Regions from separate parts of the Homo sapiens genome. Here all the other regions are linked to region 5. The links are contacts of gene promoters, found by promoter capture Hi-C in blood cells and fetal thymus (Javierre and others, 2016). All regions are on one chromosome and are shown on one strand. Each heading gives the region's core, a stretch centred on a gene start or on the middle of the fragment in contact. The rest is flanking DNA. Distances are from core to core; before and after follow the strand shown. Region 1 has its middle 27 kb from the start of OR5K4. Region 2 has its middle 9.8 kb from the start of GPR15. Region 3 has its middle 27 kb from the start of GPR15. Region 4 has its middle 17 kb from the start of CPOX. Region 5 holds the start of ARL6 (ARF like GTPase 6).

Region 1 (4,709 bases), core at 103-2,602, 560 kb before region 5:
CTCACACATCCTAGGGGTGTGGGGCCCCTGTATTAGGTTCCCAGAGGTTTGTGGTGAGAGTGGGCAGTCCTCCAGTCCTCTCACGCACCGCTTCCTCAGGTGCTGTTCAGGGCTGGGAACCAGTTATAACATTCAGGCATCCCATGAGGAGTTCCCAGCTCCCTCCCTCTTCAGCCTCAGCAACTGCATCTTTTCTGTATCCATATTTGGCATTTTCTCTGCAAATAATCTGTTCAAATTATGTTGGTGTAGTTGAAATCATTGTCTTTTCCTGTGGGAGTAGCACTTCAGCTCCATCTAGTTGGCCACCTTGGTAAAACCTAAATTTTTAAAAATTAAATACCTTTTACTGTGCCAAATAGCCTTCAGGAAAGGGAAACTGGAATCAGGCACACTAACAAGGAAACTTAGTTACTATTGTCCAATGTGTCTCAGACAAGATTATATATCAGAATAAACTGGGTACCTTTTTTTGTGCAAAATATGGATTATAAGGTATTACTGTAGAAATAGTAGTTCAACAAGGAGGCCTAAAAGTCTCCATTTTTAACATGCTCCCCAGGTGACTCAAATGCATGCAAAGTGCTTAGTCCTTGTGTGATATGACTTTGGGGGTGATAAGGAGGACAAGGCAATAGATTCAAAAGAATTTAAAATGTAGTGTCATAAGGACTTAATGACATTTTGGATATGTAGGGGGTGACCAATGAAGGAGAATGGAATTATATGGGCTGGGCAGATGGCCATCAAAAACGCAGATTGAGAGCTCAGATGCATTGGCAAATTTGTGGAAGGAGAATGTAAAAAGTAAAGCAGAGGTTCCTCTTCAAAGACTTTCCTCCCCGTCTAATTAGGAATAAATAGTAACTTCTCTTAGAAGCAAAATGTATTCAAAGACCTGTGCTAACATTCTTAAATATCTGCTAGCCATAATAAAGAAATCAACGTACTTTATGTTCTTAGCTTCCACAATTTAGCCTAAATATTTGCCCTGGCATACTTATACTGGTCCAAGCAAGCGTTAGGTCATAGCCTGTTCCTCTTCCTTATTTAAAAGTGTTTTTACCTTTCTCAACATTCCACAAGTGACTTCCTCCTTTCTTTGTTCTCCTCTACCTTTGCCTCTTTTAAAAAGTTCTAAGTTGCTAGCCAATCGGGACAAATACAGAATGTGAGGTCCTGTTCCAGCCCACGGAAACCCGACACAGCAGTAGGGTGGATGCGTCAGGATGCATCTCCTTTTTTTGGTGTACTCTTGTGGCAGAACTGCTGGTGAGTGTACCGTTTCTACAGGAAGTAAAAATGACCTTACTAAATAAATTAAATTTATGTTCAAGTGCTATTTCTTTATGGCACGGGAACAAGCATTTCAAACAGAGAATCATCTGAATATCCAGGTCAGATGAACTTAGTAGTATGAATTTACTGGAACTTACTAGAAATAATGACTTGGTTTGGAGTAGATGAAGGAATCATTATGGAAGACCTAGCAATTGGAGAGTACACAAAGTGGAAGGAAAAACTCAAGGAAGTTGTATTACAGAGGTGATAATATGTATATGCCTCATTTATTAGAATTATTAGCCATCCCCTTTTCATCTACATGTGTCTTGGTGGTGGGAAGAAGTTACCACCCATTCTAGAAACCAGAGAGGTAGAAACACACTTTCACATTTATCTTGCACCTAGAGTGAAACACTTGATCTGAGTTTGGCCAGTCAAATTGTAACTGCCAGAGGGCTTCTTCCTGCTTGCTGCACAAACAAAATCAATTCACAGAGATGATGGCATTGCAGTAAAGGAAGAGTTTAATAGACATCAGGCCAGCTACACTATGTGGGAGACAAAGTTAGTACCCAGATGAATCTCCCCAAAGGCCTGTAGTTAGGGGTTTTTCAGTGGCAGTTTGGGGGAAGGAGTGGGGGTGGCCAGGTAATGGGTGCTTACTGCTGATGTGTTGGGTCAGAGATGAAATCGTAGGGGTTTGAAGCTGTCCTTCTGTGCATTGAATCACTCTGAGTGGGGCCACAGGAGATGGGTTGGTGGGTCCAGGTGGAGCCATGGGTGTCAGACATGCAAAAAAACCTGAAAAGATATCTCAAAAGGCCAATCTACAATACTGGTATTATTTGCAGGAATGGTTGGCAATCATTTATGTCTATACCTTAGCAGAATTCAGATTCCTCTCCTCCCCCAACCTGAGGGCCTTTCATTAGCTTTACAAAGGTTGTTGAGTTTTGGGGAAGGCCTATTATCATTTAAACTATTAACTAAATGTCTGTCAAAGTTAGTTCAGCCCAAAATCCCAGGAATAATTAAGGGAAAGGCATAATGGGAGGTGGGTTAGATAGATCTCTTTTACTGCCATAATTTTCTTACTGTTATAATTTCTGCAAAGACGGTTTAAAAACCAACCCTCCATAGTTTTGCAATTTGGAGAGGGAAGATAAAGGTACAGGAACAAAAGAGAATTTGGTAGCAAAGGCAGCAATGACAAGACTCTAGCTAATGCATCCTTGACTTTGGCAACAGTGGCATCAGCAGTGGAGGCTGTGGCACCCAAGTTCAGCAGCAGGAAGAACAGCCCTCATCAGCTAGTGTTGGAACGTGGCTTTAGCTGTTGACTGGCTGTCTTGCTTCCTTCTGTTTCTGCCTATTTTTCCAGCTGATCCTCCAACTTCCTTAGCATTTCTATTTTAGACAGATTTCCATGTAATAAACTTACTTCCTGTTGTAACTGAGAATCCTGGCTCAAACAAAAGAGAGACAACAAAGAGACCAGAAAAAGATACTGAAGGAAGTGATCAGAGAAGCAGGAGGGAAACTGGAAAGCTGAGAGTTGTAGACATAAAGAGGGAAGGATACTAAAGAAAGACAAAATATAGTACAGGGCTAAATGCCAAAAAAAAATGCTACAGCAAGACAAGGAGTGAGAAGAGATCTTTGAGTGTGAAAATTAAAAGATTTTTAGTGATGTTAGTAGAGCACTTGCGTCAGAGTTAAGGTCAGAGAGTAATTCAAAATAAATGGGAAACAATGGAAAATGCTACAGAAAGCTCCATGAAATGTGAAGAATGGTTGGCATGTTTTTACTGCCCATAGACAAATGTAAAAAAGAATTTCCCATAGAACAATTTAATAAAAGTTTTCAAAGGAAGAGAGGAGAGGAATACATTTAAAGGAGAAAGGGGACAGAGAAGTGGAAAGAGAATTTGGGTAGGTGAAAAGAAAACAAGATGGAGAACAGAGAAATAAGCAGAGAATTATGGGGTCGTAAATGGAAAAGTGCAGGAAAGACAAGCCAGAGAAGCAGAGGGGAAATACCAGAGAAAGACTGAAGTGGAAAAAAATGGAAAGGCTCAAAGGCTTTAAGATAAATATTTATCCTAATGAAGCGGCATTGTTTGTCTGGGGTAATATCTGAGGTTCGTTGCCTCATGCCAAGGAAAACAAGGACGCGGACACACCAGAGTGAAGTTAAGAGCAGAAGTTTAAAAGCAAAAGAAAGAGAAGAGCTCTCTGCGCAGAAAGGGGTCCCGGAGAAAAATGGGTTGCCAGTTTCATGGTTAAGTGCACAGGGTTTTGTAGAGGAGCTTGAGGAGGCAGCGTCTGATTTACATAGGGCACGAGAGATTGGTCAGGCCAGGTGTGCTGTTTGGATAGCCTGCAAAGAAGCTGGCCGCCCCACCCTAATCTTTTACTATGTATATAAGTTCTCTACCTGGCTGGCACCACGTTGCCTACTCCCTGACTGCACACGTGGTGACGAAGAAAAGCAAAGAAAACGGAAGATGGCGCCTCCATGTTGAACATGCCTGGCTCCCAGGTAGCCTATTCCTGTCGGCACAGCCGCCAGCATTTATCTATGCAAGCTTCCAGGTTGCTTATCTATGTTTGCAGCTTAATATTTCAGGCTGCTCTTTGTTAGAAAAGAAATGATTTGGGGGCTGCTTTTTATTAAAAGGGAAGCCTTGCCCAGGACTCCTTTACCCTCACTGTCTGCCTAAATAATTTCTTCTTAGCTCCTGTATCACTAACTTTGGTGTTAAAGTGTCAACTCTGGGAATCTTTTCTTCTCTTTTAATTCAAATTTCAAAGTTCATTTTCTGAGCAGAATTTGTGTTTGAAAGGGAGATCTGACTTTAAGTTTTACTTTACAAACTTCAAGTTTTTTATTAATATATTAGCATTATCTGAAAGTTCTTTCCATATTTAAAAGGTTATCATTGTGATTAGTTATTAAAACAGACTTTTTCTAGTAATTCTGCCGGTTTTACTTGAAAGCAACTTTTTCTCCCCCATTTTTATTAGCAAAAGAAAGTTGAGCCAAAGCCTTGAATCTTACTTAGGATATAATAAGCGGTGCTGATAATTCCAGTTGCTAAACGTATTTTTATTTGGAATAGGTCTTCCTCTGTATAATCCCAAATCAGTAAATAATTGAGAATTCTTTAATTCATTTTGTTTGGGGTTACTTATTATGTCATAAATACTGGAAATAGTATTAGAGTAGCGAAGGTGTATTTTCTGCATATTTTCCACTATATATTAAATAATCAATAAAATAATAGAAAGAAGTGCATGGAAGGATAGAAGAGTTAATATTTAAATGACTTAGCTAAAAGTGTTAACCAGAGTTGTGGTTTATGATACAGAATGAGTCTTTTTATAAAGTTATCAGAAAGATTTCCATATAAGAAGCATTAGGA
Region 2 (4,540 bases), core at 936-3,435, 780 kb before region 5:
AGGGCTATTTTCTTCATCTATAAAATGGGAATGTTTCCTCAACTATCATTTATTAAACTCTTAGTATGTACCAGGTAATTTTCTGAATTCCTTACATTTTCATCTTAATTAATTAGAGGTACTACTGTTTTCTAAAGCAAGTATAATTGTTCCTATTTTATAGAGAGAAATCAGGCTCAGGAAAGTTATGAAACTTGCTCATCTTCCATAGCTAATAAATGGCAAATTCAGTTCTGTCAGTGTTCTTTAACCACAATGCTATCTTACCCTCCCAATGGTAACAGTTAAGTCATAACAAAAATTATAAATTGATGATTTAAACATTTTATATCATGATAGTTGAGATAACTCTGTTCTTTTTAGGAAGTGCCAGCAATGGAAAATTAGTCAGAATAGCATTTTGACATCTGTCTTATTTCATTTTCTGCTGCTATAACAGAATATCACAGATTAGGTAATTTATAAACCAAAGAAGTTTGTTTGGCTCATGGTTCTGGAAGCTGGGAAATCCAAGAGCATGGTGCTGGTATCTGCTGAGGGTCATCCCATGACTGAAGAGCAGAAGGTGGAAGGGCAAAAGAAAGGGAAACAGACAGCCAAAGTCCCATGATAACTAACCTATTCCCATAATAATGGCCTTAATTCATTCATAGGGTGGAGCCCCGACCCAATCACCTCCTAAAGGTCCCACCTCTCAACACTGTCACAGTGGCAATTAAATTTCAACATGAGTTTTGGCAGGGACACTTAAACCACAGCACTTCATCCCTGTTGCCCCAAAATTCATCTTATTCTTATGTGCAAAATACATTCATTCCATCTTGATAGCCCTCAAAGTCTTAACTCATTCTGGCATCAACTCAAAAGTCTCATCTAAATCAGACACTCAACCTACAATTTATCTTGAGGCTAATACTCTCCAGCTGTGAGCCTGTGAAATGAAAACAAGTAATCTACTTCCACGATACAATGGTGAGATCCGACACAATGGTGAGATAGGCATAGAATAGACATTTCCATTCCAAAAGAGAGAAGCAGGAAAGAAGGGGTAACTGGTCCCAAGCAAGTCCAAAACCCTTCAGGGAAAGCAACATTAAGTCTTAAATTTAGAGAATAGTCTCCTTTGGCTCCATGTCCTGCATCCGGGGCACACTGAGGTGGGAGTTGGGCTCCCAAGGCCTCTGACAGCCCTGTCCCTATGACTTTGCTGGGCTCAGTCCATGCTTTAGCTGTCCCAAGCTGGAGTTTCACACTGGTATCCTATAGTTCTGTAATCTTGGGGGTCACTACACTTCCACAGCTCCACCAGGCATTACACTTTGAAACCTAAATGGAGGCAGTCATGCCTCACAGCTCTTGCATTCTTCATGCTTACAGACTAAATACCACACGGGCATTGCCAAAGCTTATGGCGTGTACCTTCTGGAGCAGTGGGGCTGAGCCAAAACAGAGCAACAGCCTTTATAGAAGTTATCTTCTGATCAATTGTTTGACTTCATAATCCCACTCTCAGTCTCTCTCAAAAGTGCATAGTCACATAAGTTACTTATTATCTAATGTGGAATATAGGTTTGGAGTTTGTGGAAAGATTTATAATACCCTGGCAATAGCCGGTGGAACTCCTGACTATCACACAGTGATTAGAAATCACTATTTTTGGTCCAATACTAGGCATATTGGACCTGAATTCAGAAAAGTTTTCCATTTAAATAGAAAATCAATGTTACACCAAGAAAGGGCTGAAGTAAAGGATATTGCATCAGTTATTTCTCTACTCAAGTACAGCTGGAATGATCAAAAAAGTTAAAGGACAGTGGCAAGATTGCTCCTGATGACTGTAATAGACTCCCTGTCCCTCATAGTTACAGCATATCATAAACAAAAGACATTCAAGCAAAAGTATGAATATAAAAATTTAATATTTAACATTTTAAATGTTTTTCATTTTTATTTTAATCAATGGTGAGATTTTTCTAGCATGTTCAGTTTAGTTCAACAATGATGAGTGCTTGATATGGAAGAAGCCAAGCATATGGCTACAAAAAATGAAGATGTGGCTTCTTCTCTTCCCCCATCCCCAGGGTGGAGGGAGCTCTCTTCCTACCTGGTGGACAGACATGGCACCAGATGAGTCACTATGCAGGATGCAATAGTTGCTGTGCTAAGAGACATTATGGGAGAATAAAGGTCCTGCCTGCATGCTGAAATGTTCATCACCATTTTCAAATTTTAAATGCATAGCAGTTCTAAAACTGTTGCTTTTAAGGAATTGGGTACTTGTAAAGGAAACAGCGGGTCATCCTAGAAAGAAACAGATGATTACTAGGGGAGGTCTCAAGGCCAATGTAGGGATTATACTCACAGATCAGAAACACAGTAATTGAAAAACTAGAGGACCTACAACTCAGAAATGATGTTTTATAATAAATTTAGCTACTATTTTTATCTTGGGTACTTCATTGAAAGCCTAAACTAAATTTTAGCTTTTTTTATTACTACAAAATTAATGCATTTTTTTTTGGAAAATACAAGTAATAATAAATATAAAAATCACTTGTAACTTCACAAAGTTAACATTTTGCTGTATAGGGTTCCAGTATTTTTGCATTCATATATGAATAAAATAGTCACAAATAATGTGGTCATCCTATAGATATAGTTTTGTAGTCTGCTTTTTTCACTTAATTTCATTGGATTTATTATTAAGGTCTTTCCACTTCAGTATATGGTACAGTATTTTTAAAGGCTGCATAGTATTCCATTGTAAGAAAGTGCATGAATTTTAATTTACTCAGTCAATTTGGACATTTGGATTGTTTTCACTTTCCTGCTTTTATGAACAATGCTGCAATAAAAATACATGTGCATATGTCTTTTCACCTGGCCGTAATGATTTTTTAGGGCAAAATCTTGGAAGTGGAATTGCTTTTGATATAGGTTTCTAAATTTTTTCTACAAAGCTTAATCAATTTACACTCAATAAGCTTCCCTCACACCCGCAGACCCAATCCTGGTCAACCTTAGTATTTAATGTTTCACTCTTTGTCAGTTTAATAGGTAAAACCATATTTTGTTTTTTTTAATATTATGTATCATGCTAAATATAAATTTACAAACTTTTTGGCAGTATTCTTTTCTATGTTTGAATTATTATAGGAAAGACACATTGATTTGAAATCCTGAGGACTAAGTTATACAGTTCTGAATTGACTTTTACTCAATTCTTTACTGATTTTCCGATTTTTAAGCTATTTCTATTAACATACACAAGTCAGGTCTGAATTGCATAAACATCTTTTTTATTAGAAATAAGGTAGCCATTCTCATCTATCTTCAAGTGCTCTGAATCTGTATTTTTGCTTTAAACATGAAACCACAGGCCAAGTTTCGTTTCTCATTTACCACTTCTCCACCTGAGTTGTCAGTTTTGCTTTTGCTCTAACTCAAGGCCAAATGAAAGGGCATCTCATTAAATCACTGTGCTGGGCAAGGTTCATGTAAAGTTATCTACTTTGCTTTGCATACTTTTTTTTAGTTTGTCATTTGGAAATAAATTTAAACCTAATACTGTTCAAGATGTGTTCTTGTGTTTAAAATAATGAGTCTATACGTTTAAAGTCTTAAAGATTTTTAAGACTCGAGAGTCTTAACATCTATAAAGACAATGATAGCATTTTCATTTGAGGATGCTAATGTGAACACTTTAAGGAAATGTAACAATGTTTAGGAAATAACCATATCAAAATGACAATTACATAAGTGACTTGTATATGGACTAAGTATGGGCTTCTCCTAAACATTGGAAAAGACCAAGGAAAGTTATTTGACTTGTAATTTTCATTGCATATACCGGGCTCTTCTTGGGTGTCACTATTTCATTCTTTGATTAAAAAAAATAAACAACTATGTGGATTCTAAACTCCATGAAAAACAAGTTCTGCTTCTACCTTTTTAACTCCTATAGAGTCGAATAAAGTGATATACATATATCACTATATATATTTATTGTGAACAAATACAAATATATATATATATATATTTGTTCAACCTTTTTTTTTTTTTTGAGATGGAATTTCGCTCTTGTTGCCCAGGCTGGAGTGCGATGGTGTGATCTCAGCTCACTGCAACCTCCACCTCCCGGCTTCAAGCAATTCTCCTGCCTCAGCCTCCCGAGTAGCTGGGATTACAGGCATTTGGCACCATGCCCAGCTAATTTTGTATTTTTAGTAGAGACAGGGGGTTTCTCCTTGTTGGTCAGGCTGATCTGGAACTCGTGGCCTCAGGTGATCCACCTGCCTTGGCCTCCCAAAATGCTGGGATTATAGGCGTGAGCCATCACGCCCCGCCTCAACTTTTTTTTTTTTTTTTTTTACGTAGAGATGGGGTCTCACTATGTTGACCAGGCTGGTCTCAAACTCTTAGCCTCGAGTGATCCTCCCATCTCGGCCTCCCAAAGTACTGGGATTACAGGCCTGAGCCACTATGTCCAGCCATGTTCAACTCTTTAGTAGAAATTTCAATCCATTTATATGCTTTTTGT
Region 3 (4,413 bases), core at 891-3,390, 790 kb before region 5:
TGAGAATATAAAAAGTCTGTAAAACAAATTCTTAGGAATAGAATTGAAAATAGTTGAAAAGAGTGTGAATTTTAAATTTCACTTAATAATATGCAATTTAATTTAACAGTGTCCCACAGTGAATGAGTGGGCTTCTCCATACCTACCCTCAACATTGAAGCTCACACTATAATTTTGCCATTTTATAACTTTTAAAAAAGTTTTTTTTTTTCCAACTTGGACTTAGTTATGCAGGAGGTTGAGCATTTATAAAATATTCATTGACAATTTATATTTATATTTCTGTTAACTGCCAATTTATATCTTAACTCGCTTTATATTGAATTGATCTTTTTGCTATTAGAGCTTTTTGTATAATAAGAAAATTAGCCCTTTTTTATAAGTATGCATGTTTTTCCCCATTTTGAAATTTTTATTGTAACATAGTTTATACATCTTTTTAGGGCAGAAAATGTTTACTTTTTGTAGTAAAATGTATCTTTTATTTTTTCATCAATTTTTATTTTAAGTTCTGGGGTACATGTGCAGGATATACAGGTTTGTTACATAGGTAAATGCGTGCCATGGTGGTTTGCTGCACAGATCAACCTATCACCTAAGTGTTAAGCCCAACATCTATTAGTTATTATTCCTGATGCTCTCCCTCCCCCTGCTCCCATGACACACCCCAACATGTGTTGTTGCCCACCGTGTGTCCATGTGTCCTCATCATTTGGCTCCCACTTATAAGTGAGAACATGCAGTGCCTGGTTTTCTGTTCCTGCATTAGTTTGCTGAGGATAACAGCTTCCAGCTCCATCCATGTCCCTGCAAATGATATGATCTTGTTCCTTTTTATGGCTGCGTAGTATTCCATGGTGTATATGTATCACATTTTCTTTATCCAGTCTATCATTGATGGGCATTTGGGTTAATTCCATGTCTTTGCTATTGGGAATACTGCTGCAATAAACACATGCATGCATGTATCTTTAAAATAGAATGATTTATTTTCCTTTGGGTATATACCCAGTAGTGGGATTGCTGGGTCAAATGGTATTTCTGCTTCTAGATGTTTGAGGAATTGCCACACTGTCTTCCACATGGTTGAAATAATTTACATTCCCACTGACAGTGTAAAAGTGTTCCCTTTTCTCAGCAACCTCACCAGCATCTGTTGTTTCTTGATGTTGTAGTAATTGCTATTCTGACTTGCATGAAATTGTGTCTCATTATGGTTTTGATTTGCATTTCTCTAATATAGGTGATATTGAGCTTTTATTCATATGTTTGTTGGCTGCATGAATGTCTTCTTTTGAGAAGTGTCTATTCGTGTCCTTTGCCCACCTTTAAAAGGAGTTGTTTTTTTCTTATAAATTTGTTTAAGTTCCTTGTTGACTCTGGATATTAGACCTTTGCCCATCAGATAGATTGCAAAAATTTTCTCCCATTCTGTAGGTTGTCTGTTCACTCTAATGATAATTTCTTTTGCTGTGCAGAAGCTCTTTAGTTCAATTAGATCCCATTTGTCAATTTTTGCTTTTGTTGCAATTGCTTTTGGTGTTTTCATCATGAAATCTTTGCCTGTGCTTATGTCCTGAATGGTATTGCCTAGATTTTCTTCTAAGGTTTTTATTGTTTTGGGTTTTACATTTGAGTCTTTAATCCATCTTGAGTTTTAGTTTTGTAGAAGGTACAAGGAAGGGATCCAGTTTCAATTTTCTGCATATGGCTAGCCAGTTCTCCCAGCACCATTTATTAAATAGAGACCCTTTTCCCATTGCTTGTCTTTGTCAGGTTTGTCGACGATCAGATGGTTGTAGGTGTGCAGTCTTATTTCTGAGTTCTCTATTCTGTTCCATTGGTCTATGTGTTTGTGTAAAATGTATCTTTTAGAAAAAGATTTTAGGTTTTATAAAGCTTTCCCTACCACACTGGGAATTGTTCAAAGGAAAACTCCCATATTATCTTCTGAGTTAATAAGATACTAGTTTTTTCCTACCAGTAGCAATGACTACAAAATTGGCTCTCAAAACAACAACAAAAAGCTCTGAATTGTAGTATTTGCCAATTTCCAAAGTGTAAATACTCCCATCATGTCCAATTTCAAGCTGCCCATGTGACTTCGCTGAACACAGAGTTAGGAAAAGATGTGCACAGTTGGCTCTTGCCAGCTGATATATGCCAACTCTAGCACATCACTGCACCAGAAATGTATTTTGACATAAGGGTTGAGAGAGATCCAGCTTCTTATTTTGTTCTTTTTTTCCAAACAGCTGAAGTGAATGCTGAAGTACATATAGGACTATAAATCTGATTAAAATAGCTATGCTTTTATTCCAACACAAATTTATGTCAATTATGTTCTTACCTAATATGTGATGTATATATATGTAAGCTTTGACTTCAAGGTAGGGTTTTTGAACACATGTACACAAGGAGGGGAACAACACACACTGGGGCCTGTCAGAGTCGGGGGAGGGAGAGCATCAGGATAAATAACTAACGTAGGCTGGGCTTAATACCTAGGTGATGGGTTGATAGATGCAGCAAACCACTGTGGCACACGTTTACCTGTGTAACAAACCTGCACATCCTGCACGTGTATCCCAGAACTTAAAATAAAATAAAATTAAATTTAAAAAAATGTTTGCAAACCACTGAGCTGAGTCTTTATCAAGACGGGAGGATGGGTGGGGAAGAGAAAGATGTGTCTCTAATTCACTTACAAAGTTGCAGTTTCTCCTTAGATCTTCAATTCTCCCACCCACATAATCCCACATATTTTAAGTACTAAATGCCCTCATCTTCTGTATTTCTGTTTGTTCAAATTTTCTTTTTTTTTCCTACCGTTAAAAACTCATCTCAGAGTAAAAAAATGAGTGGTTGTGGGGAGTAGGGGGGATTAATAGGTGGCACACAAAGGATTTTTAGGGCAGTGAAACTACTCTGTATGATACTGTAATGGTGGATGTATGTCATTACGCATTTGTCCCAATCCATAGAATATACAACACCAGGAGTGAGCCCTAATGTAAACTAACAACTTTGGGTTATTACAATGTGTCACAAAAAAACCTCATCTCATATCCTTTGTCATATTAAGGTGCAAATAACTGATGAAAAATTCAAGTGCTACAAGGAAGCTGTGTAGCTGACAGGCTAAAGCTCCAGTTCAGCTTGCAAGTGGGTGTGAGAGTCTACGGCAGCTCACAACCTTCCCATGAATCATAAGAGGATGGGAGTGGAGATGAGAGGTGAGAGGCAAAACTGAAAGAGGAGAGGATTTGATTTGAAGGCACAAGATTTGGGTTCTGGTGGTGGCTCTATCACTTCCTGGATGAGTGATCTTGAGAATTCCCTGAAACTCGTTTTTCTCACCTGAGTAACAAGCTTAAGAATAGCACATTCTATCTGTGCTTTAATGAGGATAAATTGAGATAATATATGAGGACATGCTTCACTAATTGTAGTTATACAAAAATGCTGGTTATTGGTCACAAAAAAGGCAGATGTGCTTTTGAAACATTCAGACTACGGTTTGACAATGGGGCCAGTCTGCCTGTATTCCATCATTTTTACTCTCCTTTTCTATTAACTCCATGTGTCCACTTTCTCATCCTAAAATTGGAATAAAAATATTTACTCTCCTGGTTGCTTAAAGGATTGAAATAGAAATGCATGTAAAGTAGAAAAGTATCTGTCTCTCCCCGTCTCTACTCCAGTAAGTGATCAACCAAAGTTGTTGCAATTTCCTTCCAAAATCCACAGGCAATGACATTAATCTGTGTTATGCTCAATCAAAAGGCATGCCCCAGTGACCCAGAAAAGAAGAAACCTGTGACATTCCCATTATTTCCCACAGGGCACTGATCACTTTCTACTTCTCCTAGCTCACCGTGTCCATCACTCATTCCTCAACCCTTTGGGTGGGAATGAGGCATTTGCCCCTACCAGTCTATTAAAATTGCACCTAAATTTACCTTAGAGGAAGTAAATTATAAAGAGCTCTTTGGACTGTTAAAAGTGAAGTGATGTATTTAGAAAGCGAGAGAATTTAAAAATACAGAACCATGATCAATTCTGTTTTAACTTGCAGTATATAGTTGAGAGCATGGTGTACAGGTGGGAACTGGAAAAACTGATTATTTGTTACAGTTGTTATATTTCTGAAAAAGGTGTTTATTCTTGTTTTCTTCACATCTGTTTCCAGTTGCCACTTGTCTTCTTGGGTGGAAATAACTTCTTTTCTATGAACTGGCAGAGTTTCTCTGGGTGTGGGGAGGTTCTGAACTTTGCGTGAGAGTGCTCTCCTTAGTTCAGTAATGAGATCAGTCACCAAGTCACCCCTTTGCTCTCTGGTGATGGCTGCCACCTCTTGCTTTCATGAGAAATGATAAAGCAAATGAGTCAGTGCCTAGGACCCTTCAAGAA
Region 4 (4,912 bases), core at 158-2,657, 810 kb before region 5:
TATTTGCTATTCATTAGGTGGAAGTGAATCATCGTAAAGGTCTTCATCCTCATTGTTTTCATGTTGGGTAGGCTTAGTGGGAGTAGTAAGAGGAAGAGTAGGTCTTGCTCTCTCAAGGGTGGCAGAGGTGGAAGAAAATCTGCGAAGAAGCAAAACTCTTCAAACCTGTGTTGTTCAAGGCTCAGCTATGCTAATGCCATAGTTCCTCATTCCTAGGTATTTTACTCAAGAAAAATACAAGTTTTGTACTCAATTTTCATAGCAGCTTTATTCAATAGTTGAAAATTAGAAACAACCCAAATGGCTAACAGCAGGTGAGCAGATAAACAACTTGTGATATATGCGTATATTAAAATACTAAGCAATGAAAAGGAATAACTATTGCTAATGACAGTAACATGGGTGAACATCAGAAACATTATGCCAAGTGAAAGCCACACATAAAAGTACTTACTATATGACTACATTATAGGAAAACCTAGAAAAAGCAAAGCTTTAATGACAGAAAGCAGATCAATGGATGGCAGGGGTTAGGGGATGCAGATTTGTGAAAGGGGACAAAAGAGTATTTTGAGGTGATTTAAATGTTTTACATCTTGATTGTGATGGTTACTAGACTGTATATACATTTATCAAAATTCACTGAACTTAAAATGGAATTTTATTGTATATGTGAATAATACTTCAATAAATCTAATACTAGGAAAAATATAGGCATATAGGAACAAATGTTCAGATCAACCTCAGTTTAGCTTTTAAAAAATAGAAAATCACTACATAGTGATGATATAATGCTAAAATGCTAGCCTATTTAGTTGTGTTTAAAGCTGTGGCGGGTAAATGAAGATAAAATTTTTCTGTGCATTTGTTTTCAGTTCTTCAATAACCACGTATTTCTACTATGGATTAGACTATGTCTGAAAAGAATTGCATAACTACTGGAAAACAGATTATCCTACTGTTATTCAAAGTGAATTTCTCTTTCAATTTCTTACTGGTGTTAATTCAGTCTACCTGAAGACCACAGTGCACCTCCAGATGGCCTGAACACCTAACTGTCTTATGCATGCAGGTTCATGGTAATAAAGGGTGTCTGGAGGGGAGAAATGTCAATTCTCTGGAGCAAATTTTTAACCACTATTTTCTGTTCATCACTGTACTCTGCTGACCCTCCTAGTCAGCAGAGTATTTGAGATAAGTGCTTCTGCACGCTAAGGAGTACAAGATTTGAAAAGCCAAATGTTTCTTTATGACTTATCCTTCCATGTGTCTTTTGCTGTTACAATATTTAGAGACAGGAATCTTCTGCAGGTTTTTGACTTGCATGTCTGTACATAGGTGAGGATGACTCAAAGGCTCAGCTCATCTTGGACTGCAGGCTGCATTGCCTATGGGTGGCTCAGAGCACGAATTCCATGGAAAAAGGCAAAGGCAGTATGGTGGTTTTCTGTTCTAACCACTGAGGTTATGTAGTGTCACTTTCTTCACATTCCACTGGACTCCTGACAAGTCTGTCATTAAGGACAGTTCCAGATTCGAGTGGTAGGGAATTAGATCCCAGTCATCTTCAAAACCTCCACACAGCCTTCCACACTCAAAACCACGAAATAGATTGGACTCAACCCTCCACATTGCCCTAATTAGTTCCTGTTGAGTCCCCCTTTGAAATGGCTCCTGGTTTCCTTCCTCTGCCCTTTGCCACCACCCTACTTTAGTCTCACATACTTTCTCATCTGAACTTTTGCAATGCTCTCCCTGCCTCTGGGCACTCTGACCTTTCCCTCTCTTCAGAATTATTTTCCTAGGTCCCATTATCACCACCCTGCTGAAATAGTCAAAGAATCTCCTCTCCAGACAGAATTCTAAAGTCAGTCTGACATTCAAGCAATCCACCATTTAACTCCTACCTCGTGTTTCAGGCTTATCTTCTACATTTCTCTGTGCACTTCAGTCTCAGACCATATACTCACCACTCACCACTTTTCCTGAACTTCCCCCAAATTATATCCCCTCTGGCCTTTTCTCAGGCTGCTGCTATCTCTGCTTGGAATGTCTTATGTGCCCGCTCATCCTTCCATGCCCATTTTAAATCTTCTTCAAGAAACCTTCCTTGGAGTCAATCTCTTCTACCCTTTCAACACATTTTACTTTTAGTATTGCTGTCAACATATTCCATTTACAGTCATTCAATCCACATCCCACTTATTACAAAATATTGAAGGTGGATCTTTCCTTATTTATAGTACCTGCTACCTAATGAATGATGTGTTAACCTTTGTTTTCCAACACTGTTTTGCAATATATCGTAGTATCAAGCTTAGTGTTGTTTAGTTGTCTGTATAACTGTCTTATTCCTAGTCTGTGAAAACAGAAGTTCCCAGTATCTCTAAAAGCCCATTTAGAAATTGTTTTCAAGGATGTATTGTATTATCCCTGCCACAAGTATGAATTATGTATTTGAAATCTCACATTTTAAAATTTCATCTTTCTTCCCAAAGAAACACATAACAATCCAATTTCATAATAAACCTAAATTAGCACATTTAAGTTAGTGACGCTTAGACATTTGTAAATGGCTTGACTAAATTCCCTTGTATTGTTACCTGAAATCAAGTCATAAGTTGTACAACATAAAACCTCACTGATATGGTTAGGGTTTGTGTCCCCACCCAAATCTCACCTGGAATTGTAATCCCCCAAATCCCCAGGTGTCAAGGGAGAGACCAGGTGGAGGTAATTGAGTCATGAGGGTAAACCATCCCCGTGCTGTTCTCGTGGTAGTGAGTGAGTTCTCACAGGATCTGATAATTTTATAAGGTGCTCTTCCCTTCTTTGCTCAGCACTTCTCCTTCCTGCTGCCTTGTGAAGAAGGTGCCTTGCTTCCCTTTTGCCTTCTGCCATGATTGTAAGTTTCCTGAGGCCTCCCAGCCATGCTGAACTATGAGTCAATTAAACCTCTTTCCTTTATAAATTATTCAGTCTCGGGCAGTTCTTTATAGCAGTATGAAAACAGAATAATGCACTCACAGACCTGTTTCTACAAGTTGCTTTTTTTTTTTTTTTTTTTTTTTTTGAGGCAGAGTTTCACTCTTGTTGCCCAGGCTGGAGTGCAATGGTGCGATCCTGGCTCACCACAACCTCTGCCTCCTGGGTTCAAGCCATTCTCTTGCCTCAGCCTCCCGAGTAGCTGGGATTACAGGCATGTGCCAGCACGCCCGGCTAATTTTTTTGTATTTATTTAGTAGAGACAAGGTTTCACCATGTTGGCCAGGCTGGTCTTGAAATCCTGACCTCAGGTGGTCCACCTGCCTCGGCCTCCCAAAGTGCTGGGATTACAGGCATGAGCCAGCACACCCGGCTAATTTTTTGTATTTTTTTAGTAGAGACAAGGTTTCACCATGTTGGCCAGGCTGGTCTTGAAATCCTGACCTCAGGTGATCCACCCACCTCAGCCTCCCAAAGTGCTGGGATTACAGGCATGAGCCAGCACACCCGGCTAATTTTTTGTATTTTTTTAGTAGAGACAAGGTTTCACTATGTTGGCCAGGCTGGTCTTGAAATCCTGCCTCAGGTAATCCACCTGCCTCGGCCTCCCAAAGTGCTGGGATTACAGGCATGAGCCACGGTGCCCGGCCTACAAGTGGTTTTATACTGGATATTCACTAACATATACCAGCAGAGCAAGGTAGTTGAACTGCATTTCCTCTTCCGATCAGTGTAGCCAGCTCTATTCTAGATCTTAAGCTCATTCAAACAGTATTTTCAATAATTCTTTTACTGTTAATCCCTTCATATTTCAAAATGCGTTTGAACATAAAACTTGTCATAATCCAAGCCATCATGGTTTCAATAGGTTGATGCAAATACAGCCACTTAGGAAAGTAAATTGACTTTGCAGTCATTTAGAGTTGCAACACTGACTCTGTCATGGATGTGTTTTCTTATGAGATGGTTGAGAGGTATCAAAGTTCACAAAGCTGTACTGGCTGAATGCCTCTTATGTAATAGCAAGTGAATAATGCTTTCATAAATAAAAGTCTTTATAGCAATTTATCTATGCTCAGATCGGTTCAAGATTGCTTCCATTTTCTGACTTGATGAGGGAGACAGGCTTTTAGAATCTGTTCCACACCTGCTGCTTGACATTCTTCTAACCATTAGTATAATATACAAATCCACAATTTCTTGTAGTTCAAACTGTAGTTTATTAAAAATAACTAGTTCAGATGTCCTCAAAGACCATTTAAATTAATACTACCTGAATACAGGCTGGGCACGGTGGTTCATGCCTCTAATCCCAGCACTTTGGGAGGCCGAGGTGGGTGGATCACCTGAGGTCAGCAGTTCAAGACCAGCCTGGCCAACATGGTGAAACCCCATCTCTACTAAAAATACAAAAATTAGCCAGGCGTGGTGATGGGCGCCTGTAATCCCAGCTCAGGAGGCTGAGGCAGGAGAATCGCTTGAACCTGGGAGGCAGGGGGTGCAGTGAGCCAAGATCGTGCCACTGCACTCCAGCCTGCGCGACGGCGCGAAACTCTGTCTCAAAAAAAACCAAAAACCAAAAAACTACCTTAATACAAATTCTGCTGAAAGTACTTTTTGTTTTTTAATGTGTACTTGATCTTATGTGCTATTCAACGTGAGTGTGGTGCTTAAAAATAATGTATTCCTAAGAAGCAAAAATAAGGACCTACTTTCATCTTTACCTCTCTGCCACCCACCCCGACTCTTCATCTTAGTAATGTGTGGGAGATATGGTATCTCCCCAAACAGCAAGAGGCAGTCTTCAGCTGACGTGCCCTCGTGTGTGGAACAAAGACAAGCCATCGTTGCTGTGCCCTATCAGAATCCCTGACTCACAGAATCTGTGAATGTGATAAAATGGTTGCTGTTTATATGTCATTAAGCT
Region 5 (4,399 bases), core at 1,206-3,705:
TTCTTTGTTAACTTGTCCCTAAAGTGTTCATTTCTCTTGTTCAATTGTATTGATTCTTTGAAAAAAAAATTCTTTCTAATGCAAACTTAAAAAAAAACTATCAGCAATCCAAAAATAGAAGTATTTGGAAGTCAAATAAAACTGCTGTGTACATAAAACTTGCTATGTGGTAACTTTATGGCTGTTTATATTCATCTAAGGTACTGTTAAATTTACACTTCAGGTCTCCAAACTAAACTTTTCAAAGGAGCTCACTTTGGGTCCATTGCTCCCCAAACCATTACTTTGTGGTAGAAGGACAGGGAGATAGATCCCTTTTTCCAGCCCCCAACTGCTGCAGGAACTGCTACAATATATCTATGTACCAAATATTTCTCATTACTCACCAACATTAGTTCTCTAATGTTTTTATTCTCATTAAATTGACTTATTCTCATCTCCATCTAAGGTTGCATAAGCAACCTGTCATATTACAGTTTCTTCAATACTTTTTATTCCATACAATTTCAGGCAAGGCCATACCTTGAAGGATGTGAGGCTGCAGCAACTTTATCAATAACAGGCTTCCAAGACAACTGTATCTAAAAGGAGGTTGCATAGTCAACATTTTGCTTAGGCCTTTTGGGATATGATTATGGGTAGAAATTTCAAAACTAAATTTCAGTGATGTGCAGAGAAGAGATGGAACAGTGCCATGCCAAAAGGTGAGGCCTATTACAGAACCACGTTTGTCTTTCCCCAAGGATGAGTTTGACCTCAGGTACTTCCATTTGTGCCACTTCAATCTGCTTTTCTCCTTGTATCAGAGATTCAAATCTTATTCAGTCCATTTCTTTAAATTACAGCTTAAGGACCAGCATTTGTAAAATCTATTTTAAATTAACCTTCTGATGTCATGAAGCAATTCACACATACCATTTGATTTCAAAGTAAATTTGCTATTACTCACTTTATTTACTGCATAAACATATTGATATAAATGCTTATATCTTGTTCTCCATTTCATAATTTAGAACTTATGTTTTAAAAACGACAACTTCTCACATTTTCCCCCCTTTAAGCATCTACTATAAAGCACTGAGTGTTTAAAGCCTGATGCTTGAATATTCGTTTTTCACAGTACCTTGTATTGTGACTTTCCATCACTTTTCCATGGATTATCACTTGATACTTGTTAATGAAATATTTTGGGACACACAATTTAGAAGAGCAGGCAGTTTTTCTAAAAGAGGTAATCACATTTATTGAAATTGCTTTATAAACAACTATCATAGAGCCTTTAAACTTCTACGTTTCAAGTAGTTATAATTTTCCTTCCATAAGTTGACTTTCTGCATGCATAAATAAAAGATAATTGAAGCCAGTCAATATTTGTTAATCGTGTCTTAAGTGTGCAGCGAGAGACACAACTGTTTTCTGCAGCTTCCTACTCTGATAGCCATGATTCTCAACCCTGGCTGCACTCTGAAATCAATTGCTGAATCCGAATTTTTGAAAATAAGATCAGGGCATCTGTAGTTTTAAAAGCTACCCAGTGTTTCTGATGTGAAGTTACTATTGAGAACTACTGGCTTTCAGAATAAAGCCAGTAGTTTCAAACTTCCAAGCACAGCTTTTAAGGTTGTCCACAATCTGGCTCCAATCTTCCTTTCTTGTTTCTTATCTTACTGTAACCCTCTCTTTGCACACCAGCCAAATTCTCTTGGTTATTGTCTGACAGACTGTTTCCTAAAGGATTACATATTGCCAGAGAAGTCCAGAAGAATTAGGATGTTATCCACAGTTAACAGCTTAGAGGGTAAGCTGCAGAGACAGAGTGGTAGCCCAGAGAAAACACCACGAATGATACTTAGTAAACTCTGTAAAGTGTTTGTTGATTGAAATGTTGCCTACTTTTATTACCCCAAATAAACATTCTTATTCGGCTTTCAGTTTTTTATGATATAATTTAAATTACACTTACACACACACACACACACACACACACACACACACACACACCCCCAATACACGGGTCTAAGTTGAGCATTGTTAAAACCCATCAACCAAACATACGTCCAAACCAGTTTAGTAAGTTTTCTAGGGCCTCTATAACTCACCTTCTTTTCTACTTCTCATACATTAGCAACAACTACACGCGTGGAGTGAAAAACATGGGAAAGACCAAAGAGGAATTCTAAAACTGACGGGGACAGAGGGTGGCGCTGGCTTTAAAAACCGGCGTTGAGGAGATACCTGGTTTTTGAGGTTAGTCCGGAGGGCGCAGGAGCTGGCAACAGGAATGGACGCACTCGTATCGGTCTCCGGGATGGAAATCTGGTGCGAGGGTCCCTCAGCCTTCTTCTCGATGCCTACATGGGAAGGATGCCTGGTAATGAGCAAAGCCGTCTCTAGAAGTTGGGAAAACCGGCAGCCTCTGCAGCAGTCTGTGCATCAGTCGCTGAGCAGGCGCCTTGGCAGGCACCGTTCCCTTGGCAACAGGAGCTTCTTCCGGTCCTGAAGCCACGCCTCCCCGGGGGTCCTGGCGATTCAGCCGTTGTGCTATAGCTTCTGGGATTGAAGAGCTCCGGGAAAAGGTCAGAGGCGCGCCGAGGAACTATACATTGAAGAAAAATGTGTGCACAGGTGGCAGGGTGAGCTGCCTATTTCCTGCGAGGAGCCGGGCAGTTCCCGGCGTAGCATCATGGGAGTTGTAGGCTCGCGCACAGCTTTCTGGGAAGCGTTTGGCGTTCGCGTGTGCTGCGTGTTTGTCGCTCGGCCCTGGTCTTCCTGGGGATCCAAGAGGCTGGCGCTGGGTGTGGCGCGGAGAGTGTCGTTACCGGGCACCAGCGTAGCGTTGTGGCAACGACTGCAAGACGATACTGTCCCCCCTGGGGCAAGATGTGCGCCGGAGTTCCCCAGTTGCCCATCGCACCGACTCTTCTCTGGGTTCTGATAGGCCTCCCACCCTGAGTCCCTGTAGAGGTAAAACTGTTAATACAGGAAGGTAGAGGGGAGAACTGGTGTAAAAAGTCAAAAGGTGTTATTCGGCTAATAAAGTATGCCTGTACCCCTGCTTCTTAGTTGTGTGGTCTCCCGAAGAGATTTCTACCAGGCATAATCTCCTGTGAGTAGATTACAGTCTCCAGAATCAAATCGGCAGGTGGTCAGGAAAGGTATTAATAGTCAATACTTAAAGTTGACCACCTTCTTAAATTGCACTTGGATTTTATAGTCATAGTCACAAATGGTCTTCAAATAGAAAATATTTAGGCATACCCTTCCCCACATCTTTTATTACTGCGTTTTCCAACGGACACATTACAGATGCAGTCATTTTAAAGATCTAGCCTTTCAATCTGCCCAACTCCACTAACCTCACCCCCAGCGAATGGCCTCATTCTTCAAATAGGGGTTTGTATCTCTTCATTTTTTTTGTTTGCATGGGTGTAGGATTTCCGACCCCCTGCCCCCCACCGCGCGACCCTTTTCAACTAGCTAGTGTATGTTTACTGCACTGCCTGTTCTTTGGCCTGTCAATTCATTTGGCCTATTAAATGGACTAGGAGGGTGCAAAAAGAGACTAGAAGGAATTATTTCAAAGTAATATGGTAGGGGGGACGGTTGTAAGCGTGTGATTATGGGGTGATTTATCTTTTGTCACTTCTCCAAATTTCCAAATGTAATTGTCATTTTTACAGCGAAAAAACAAAAGCGGCTCTGGATTAGTGATTCTTGTTGAAAGACAAAAACAAAACAAAGACCCTATGGATGCATATCAACATATAAATGTCCTTGTAAAAATGGAGTATGGAAATACATTCTTTCTTACTGTGTGGTCTTAGCCCAATTTACCCTTCTCCGTGCTTCTATCCTCACCTTCAAAAATATAGTATTTATCTTATCTGGTAGTTCTGAGTATTAAAGATAACAGAAATACAGATGTTTGGCACATATTTATTGTTCAATAAATAATGTCCTGTCTTCTTTTGTCTTGAGCTTTTTATTGTGTAAACAAAATTGACCCAAACCGTAACTATGGTGGTTCTTTAACTTCTGAACTTCTAATCGTGAATGCATTGACAGGGAGGTGTTGAACACTTTTCTGTGTGCCTGGGTGTTGTGACTTACTTGTAAGAGATGGAAGCTAATGTGCTTGCGGCCAAAATATAACATTTTTTTTTCTTAGCGATCGGCAGAAATGTTATATTTCAGAAAACTTTCATGGACAGACTCAATTTTTCCTGCTAAAAGTTGATATTTTCTGCCTCTAGGTTGAGTTCATCTCTTTTGGCTTAATATAAAACATTTGGTGAAAACTGGAAATAAAATGGACATATTGAGCATCCAACTTTTCAGGAAAACAAGGCAGATAGATAATTCTTCTACAAAAATGTAGCTAGTCAAATCGTTATCTTAG

What was found. The method cuts DNA at HindIII sites, captures the fragments that hold promoters and counts their contacts. A CHiCAGO score of 5 or more calls a contact.
Region 1: a contact is called between a fragment that was not itself captured here and the fragment with the promoter of ARL6 in region 5, in 4 of 17 cell types (non-activated CD4 T cells, naive CD4 T cells, total CD4 T cells and 1 more). The highest score is 8.0, in non-activated CD4 T cells.
Region 2: a fragment that was not itself captured here is called in contact with the fragment with the promoter of ARL6 in region 5 in 1 of 17 cell types (total CD4 T cells); the score reaches 5.0 in total CD4 T cells.
Region 3: a contact is called between a fragment that was not itself captured here and the fragment with the promoter of ARL6 in region 5, in 5 of 17 cell types (total CD4 T cells, activated CD4 T cells, total CD8 T cells and 2 more). The highest score is 7.8, in total CD4 T cells.
Region 4: a contact is called between a fragment that was not itself captured here and the fragment with the promoter of ARL6 in region 5, in 7 of 17 cell types (activated CD4 T cells, total CD4 T cells, non-activated CD4 T cells and 4 more). The highest score is 11.2, in activated CD4 T cells.

Annotation. Positions count from the first base shown.
Region 1 is chr3:98,324,210-98,328,918 of GRCh38, reverse strand. No RefSeq gene overlaps it. Among named protein-coding and RNA genes, the nearest start is that of OR5K4, 27 kb to the left of the region's middle. RefSeq lists enhancers at 1-458, 1,887-2,485, 3,095-4,294 and a silencer at 1,820-1,879. The HindIII fragment of the contact is 5,045 bases long and covers 1-3,874 here.
Region 2 is chr3:98,539,473-98,544,012 of GRCh38, reverse strand. No RefSeq gene overlaps it. Among named protein-coding and RNA genes, the nearest start is that of GPR15, 9.8 kb to the right of the region's middle. The HindIII fragment of the contact is 1,555 bases long and covers 1,408-2,962 here.
Region 3 is chr3:98,556,353-98,560,765 of GRCh38, reverse strand. No RefSeq gene overlaps it. Among named protein-coding and RNA genes, the nearest start is that of GPR15, 27 kb to the right of the region's middle. RefSeq lists enhancers at 4,203-4,282, 4,413, 3,784-4,413. The HindIII fragment of the contact is 478 bases long and covers 1,902-2,379 here.
Region 4 is chr3:98,574,234-98,579,145 of GRCh38, reverse strand. It overlaps a transcript of CPOX not described here. Among named protein-coding and RNA genes, the nearest start is that of CPOX, 17 kb to the left of the region's middle. The HindIII fragment of the contact is 1,823 bases long and covers 496-2,318 here.
Region 5 is chr3:97,762,814-97,767,212 of GRCh38, reverse strand. ARL6 (ARF like GTPase 6) reads right to left here and starts at 2,455. Exons shown (of 8, transcript NM_001278293.3): 1 at 2,236-2,455. RefSeq lists enhancers at 2,298-2,407, 2,123-2,622, 2,448-2,987, 2,623-3,124. The HindIII fragment of the contact is 6,880 bases long and covers 1-4,399 here.